2 separate regions of the Homo sapiens genome follow, and region 1 is linked to region 2. Evidence: promoter capture Hi-C in 16 types of primary human blood cells and fetal thymus (Javierre and others, 2016). All regions are on one chromosome and are shown on one strand. Each heading gives the region's core, a stretch centred on a gene start or on the middle of the fragment in contact. The rest is flanking DNA. Distances are from core to core; before and after follow the strand shown. Region 1 overlaps STK32B (serine/threonine kinase 32B). Region 2 holds the start of STK32B (serine/threonine kinase 32B).

Region 1 (3,221 bases), core at 241-2,740, 130 kb after region 2:
GAGAATCGCTTGAACTGAGGAAGCAGGGGTTGCAGTGAGCTGAGATTGCACCACTGCACTCCAGCCTGGGCAAAAAGAGCAAAACTCCATCTCAAAAAAAAAAAAAAATTAAATTAAAAAATAAAATAAAACCGGCCATTGAATTCTTTCTAGATGTTAAAGTCCTAGATGGCATCTACCTCCAATACTTGTACGAAGTGAGATGGGGGATGGCCAGTGAGTGGAGCATTCAGAACACACACAACATTTATTAAGTTCGCCTCCTTATTTAAGTGTAAGGCTGTTTTGTTTAATTGAAAAATCTGTTGTTTGGTGTAGCCACCTTTGTCAATGACCGTAGCAAGATATTCTAAGTAACTTGCTACAGCTTCTCCATCACACTTTCTGCTTCACTTTGCATTTTTATGTCCTGGAAACAGCTTTTTTCCCCTTTAAACCTCCTGAACCAACCTCTGCTACCTTTCAGCTTTTCTTCTGCAGCTTCCTCACCTCTTTCAGCCTTCATAAAATTGAAGAGAGTTGGGAACTTGCTCTGGATTAGGCTTTGGCTTAAGGGGATGTTGTGGCGAGTTTGATTTTCTATCCAGACCACTCAAACTTTCTCCGTATCAGCAGTTAGGCAGTTTCTCTTCTTTATCATTGTTATGTTCACTGGAGTAGCACTTTTAAGTTCCTTCAGTAACTTTTTCTCTGCATTCAGAACTTGGCTAACTGCTCGGCAAAAGAACCCCAGCTTTTAACCTATTTTGGCTTTTCACATGCCTTCCTCACTAAGCTTAATTATTTCTGGCTTTTGATTTAAATTGAGAGACATAGGAATCTTCCTTTCACTTGAGCACTCAGAGGCCATTGTAGTGTTATTGCTTGGCCTAATTTCAGTATTGTTGTGTCTCAGGGAATAGGGAGACCCAAGGGGAGGGAGTGAGGTAGGGGAACAACCAGCGATGGAGCATTCAGAACATGCACAACATTTATTGATTACATTTACCTTCTTATATGGGTGCAGCTCATGATGCCCCAAAACAATTGTAGTAGTAATATCAAAGATTATTGATCACTTTGGGAGGCTGAGGCAGGTGGATCCCTTGAGGTCAGGAGTTCCAAACCAGTCTGGCCAACATGGTGAAACCCTGTCTCTACCAAAAATACAAAAGTTAGCTGGGCGTGGTGGTGCATGCCTGTAATCCCAGCTACTTGGGAGGCTGAGGCAGGAGAATTGCTTGAACCCGGGAGGCAGAGGTTGCAGTGAGCTGAGATCGCACCACTGCATTCCAGCCTGGTGACAGAGCGAGACTGTCTCAAAAAAAAAAAAAGAAGAAGAAGAAGAAAAAGAAAACAAAGATCACTGCCATAACAAATACCATAATAATGAAAAAAGTTGAAATATTCCAAGAATTATCAAAATGTGACAGAGACACAAAGTGAGCACATGCTGTTGGAAAACATGGCACCGATGGATGTGCTTGATGCAGGGTTGCCGTGCACCTCCACTTTGTGAAATATGCAGGATCTGCTAAGTGCTGTCAAGAGAAGCACAGGAAAATGAGGCGTGCCTGTGTTAGCACTTGTCCTTTGAGGCTGGCCTCTGGCTGGTTGAGCACCTGAGGTGAGGTTGCTCCCTGTTTCCGTGTGACTACGTGTTCTCTCCTTCTCCTCCAGCGTCAGACGTGAGGACACGGCCTTTTGGAAAATGTGTCTTGCGTTTTTAGCATTAGACTGTTATCCTGATTGAATGTTAATGGGTCAGTAGTTCATTCATGTGTTCGGACTGCATTTTCAAAATCCATTTCTACTTACCTAATTGGCTGTATTTACTAGACTCACTGTTAATCTGTTTTGTTTAAAACCGGAGGAGGGAGGCATCTGTCCCTGTCTATTGCCTAAACAACCGAGAGAATGAATGAACATTCTCAGGATGAGAACAGATGTCAGAAGTTAGTTTAAATGGCTCTCAGGGCAATGTAGGTTTCTAGAATCATTTTTGAGTTGCAATGGACTGAGTCAGTACACGGATATCTACCTGCCAGTCTAAGCCAAGAAACAATCACTTAAATCAGAGGCTACATTTTAAGTGTTGAGAGCTTTGATTAAAATAAAACTATATTAAGTATTTGAAGGCAGAGCCGATCTGGCTGAAGTAGTGGAGGGCAGGGAAAGGGACGTGGGGGAGGACAGAGACTGGAAGGCATCAGGGAAACCTTTGACAAAGCTTCTCAGCCTTATAAACAATTGCTAGATGCTGAGCAGTGTCATTTCCACAGAAGCAATTGTCCCTAGCCTGAACTGTTGCTATAGGCTCCTAACTACTGTTTCAATGCCCAGCCAGTTACCCATCACCCACGTGCCCTTCACAGGACAGGTCTTATCAAAGCGTAAGTCTGTGCCTACCACGCCTCTGCATAAAATACCACAATGGCTCCCGAAGCCCTCAGAATGAACGTCTTTCTGTGATCTAGCCTGTAACACTATGTACAGTCTCATCCCCTGACACCCACCCCTACTACCATCTTGGGCCATTTTTGTTCTCGTCCATACTAACTGGTTTGTGGGTGATCTGTCATACATCCTACTGTTCTCATCTCTCCAGGCCTCTGCTCAGGCTGTGCCCTCTGCCTGGAACACCGTCTGTTCTTCGGTCACTGCGAGAACTCCTGCTCATCCTCCACAGGAATTCATTCATTAAGTCGCTATTCACTGGGCTCTTATTGGGTACCAGGCACTGTTCCAATTTCTAAGGGTGCAGTGGTGAAGACAGTCAGTATGGCTCCTGTCCTCTTGGAGTTCATAGTCCAGGCCTCACCTCCTCCATCAGCCCTCCTCGGGACACCAGCCCCAGACAGTGGTGCTTTCTCGCAGATCCTGTTATGGCATAAAGGCAGCTCTGTCACGGTTATCTGCTGGGGTGTGTGTTTCCTCCGTGAGCAGTGGGCCGCTTGAGGAAGGGGACCATACCTTATTCATCTCTGTCTCCCTAGCATCTGACGTTCAGTAGATTAATTTATGTAGTGCTGTTAAGGGCCCCTGACATGCCAAATGCTGTGCTAGACCCTGGTGGCAGAACTGTGAGGAAGACAGTTCCTCCCTGTCTTACAGGTGAGAGAAGACAGATGCTAACCAGCAGTCGCTTATCTCGCTTGCTCTCTTCCCTCCATCTGGGATGGTTATCGTGCTTTGGTGTCCTGGGTTAACTTAAAAACTATAGAGATTTCAAACACCCACCA
Region 2 (3,086 bases), core at 503-3,002:
GAGGCCTGGCAATCACACCCAGCTAAGTTTTGTTTTTTTAGTACAGATGGGGTTTCTCCATATTGGCCAGGCTAGTCTCAAACTCTTGACTTCAGGTGATCCACCCGCCTCAGCCTCCCAAAGTGCTGGGATTACAGGTGTGAGCCCCCACGCCCGGCCTAGCACAATATCAATATATTCCTCATAACAATGTTAGAAAGGGAAAGTTCTCTTATTAGCACCTTCTGGACTCAGATGAAGAAACTGAGTCCAGAACAGGTTAAGTAATTTATCCAAGTTAACTGGCTAATGAGGGGCAAAGCAGAATGAAACCTGGGTAGAATGAGCCCAGAGCCCATGCCTGTCCACATTCCGCCCTATGCTTCTTGAGCTAGGGGCCAGCTCTGTGTTCAGGGCATTGCCTGCTGCACACTGGCTACTCAGTGTATGCTTGTTGGTGGAATGAAAGGCAAGAAATATTTATTCATCATTTATTATATGCCGGGCACTGTTGCCTGCTTTTATAAATATTACCTGATATAATTCTCACAGACAACCCAAGGAGTTAATATCAATCAGCCCACTTTGCAGATAAGAACTCCAAAGTGGGACACATTGCCAGTAAATGGTAGAGCCAGCTCTGGGTCATGGTGGGTGGGCCTGCCTCAGACCTTCTCAGTTCTTTCCCACTGCCTTTAAGAGATTTTTTGTTTTGTTTTGTTTTGTTTTGTTTCTGTATGAGTCTCCCCGGCTTCCCTCACCCTTCTCCCAAGAAAAAGAAAGAAGGGGAGAGAACTGGAGAGAGAGACCAGGTAGGGGACGGGGACTGGGGGACGAGATAGGATGGAGAGAGTCACAAAGAACCCCTGCTTTCTATCAAAGCACGGACAGTGGTTCCAGGCGCCCAGCAGATGGCAGGATGTAGCCAAAGATTCCCTGCAGTCCCGGAGAGCTGGGCCCGCAGGACTGCAAGGCAGGGGGACCTGCCTGTCCCTCAGGGAGCGTCCTGGGAACCCGCGCTCGCCCCACACGTCTTGGGGCGCATCTGCCGCACCCCTTACTTAGGCACCCGCAACTGTGGCGCGTATCTCCCGATCCAGGCTCCCGCCGCAGGAGCCCAGGGACCCTCATGCTAGCCTCGCCCCTAAATCGGACGCCGATGCCGCCCAATTTTGGGGGAATCCCGAGACTCATGCCCAGCCATTCCCAGGGAGAATGGTTTGGGGCAAACTATGGCTGTCTGGGGCCTCAGTTTCCCCATGTACAATGAAGGGGTCAGATTAGTATCTAATCTTAAGGGGTCAGAAAGTAAACAGATACTTTCATTCATTAAACACTGAGAAAAACCTTAAGAGGAACAGCGTCGGTTGGAGAGCCAGCAGACACTCCACTGCCCATCCCAATATGAATGGGCAAATACAGGCTAGCGGGGAGTCCTGGGACTCCCTTCGCAGCCGGGGCCGACTAACCACAGACCTAAGAGCCCCTCTACCTCTAGACCTCCGTCTACTGCGCTCTAAAATATGAACGATGCTTTCTTACTGCTGGGTTGTCGGAGGCGGATGTGGGATGGTGCTAACAAAGCGCGTAGCCGAGGCCTGGCCATAGTGGGTGCTGACAAACCGCTTACTGCCTGCAGGGACCGAGCTCCCGGCCGAGGGAGGAGGGCCGAGCAGGGATTCAGATTCTTCCGGGCCGATCCCTTTCTCAGCTCCTTCCGCCCTGCCGCCGCCCACTGCGTGCTGCCTTCGTCCGTCCCCTCCTCCCCCGCTCCTTCCCCTCCTTCCCCTGCTCCCGCGCCGCCTCGCGTCTCCCGCCCGCTGTAGCCGGCGAGGAGCGCCGCACGTTGGCCCCGGCGCGAGGAGCTCCCGGGTTCCCGGGCGGGCACTGGAGTAAGGAGCTGCGAGCGCAGCCCGAGGCGGGGCACGGCGGAAGGCGCGGCGAGAGCGGGGTCCCTGCGAGCGCAGTCGGAAGGGCGTCCAGGAGAAGGGGGACGCCGTCCCCGCCCCTGCACGGTGCTCGGCCCCCTCGGGCTCCGCGCGCGGCTACAACCCGGACTGGGCGCGCCCCCGGCATCCCGCATCTCTGCGCGCGTCCCACATCCCGCATCCGGCATCCCAGCGGCCGGGCATGTAGCAGCGGCAGCAACGGCGGAATATGGGCGGGAACCACTCCCACAAGCCCCCCGTGTTTGACGAGAATGAGGAAGGTAAGAGAGCGAGAGGTGCGAATTCCCGCTTCGCGGGGCATCCCCTTCCTCCACCACCCTCGGCCGAGCCCTGCGGGGCACCGCATGCTGCCCGGCGCGGGGACCCAGGCATGGCCACTTCGCCCAGCGAATGCAGTGTGTGCCCGACCCGTGCCAGGCGCGGCGCTTCTGCTGAGGCAACTCCTAGGTACCCAGTGCCGTTTAGTAGTCGGGACGGTGCCTAGCGCGGGACTGGGGAGGCGGCTTCAGAGAGTTGAACCCGAAACCTGCACTTGGGGGTGTGGAAGGGAGGAGTTGACTTCGGAGGCCAGTCGGGATGGTTCTAGGCTCGGGCTCCCCAGGAAACCGAGGTTTCCTTGAGAGCCTGAGGCTGACGGAGGTGGCCTGGAAGGGCGGGTTGCACCGTGTGTCTGTGTGTGTGTGCGCGTGCCCACGACGCATTTGGTCTCGTGCAAGGGCCTGTTGGATGCAGCTCTCCTCAATCACCCAGGACAGAGGGAAACTTTTCTTTGCTAAACTCTGTGGTTCCTAGGAGGGCGTCCTGTTCTGGGCAGCCTCCCCCTGGCGCAGAAGTGGTGTAGGCTGTCCAACCGCATCTCAACTTCCTGGCTGGATCCTTGCGGTTCAGGTCGATAGAGCTCCCTATTTGGACTAGCAGAACCCTCTTTCCAGTGCAGCGTGTCCCTGGAAAACTTACTTCACCTCTCTGAAACATTAGTCCCTTCATCAATGAAATGTGAGTTATGATACCACTAGCTACTTTATAGGGTTGTTTGAAGCTTAACCACTAGTAATCCACGTGAAAAGTGCCTTATAAATGCAAGCAGTACCGAGCTGTGCCGTTTTTTATGTTAAGAGCCCTCTGCCTCTCAAAGCTGGTTTCCTACTGTGCTGACTC

Evidence for each region. Contacts are between HindIII fragments. The CHiCAGO score rates a contact against its expected background, and 5 or more counts as called.
Region 1: a contact is called between a fragment that was not itself captured here and the fragment with the promoter of STK32B in region 2, in 1 of 17 cell types (fetal thymus). The highest score is 6.8, in fetal thymus.

Annotation. Positions count from the first base shown.
Region 1 is chr4:5,183,385-5,186,605 of GRCh38, forward strand. All of the region lies in intron 3 of STK32B (serine/threonine kinase 32B), which reads left to right. Among named protein-coding and RNA genes, the nearest start is that of STK32B, 130 kb to the left of the region's middle. The HindIII fragment of the contact is 1,434 bases long and covers 774-2,207 here.
Region 2 is chr4:5,049,728-5,052,813 of GRCh38, forward strand. It overlaps STK32B (serine/threonine kinase 32B), which reads left to right and starts at 1,753. Exons shown (of 12, transcript NM_018401.3): 1 at 1,753-2,188. The coding sequence starts at 2,137. RefSeq lists an enhancer at 2,455-2,993. The HindIII fragment of the contact is 3,285 bases long and covers 1-2,965 here.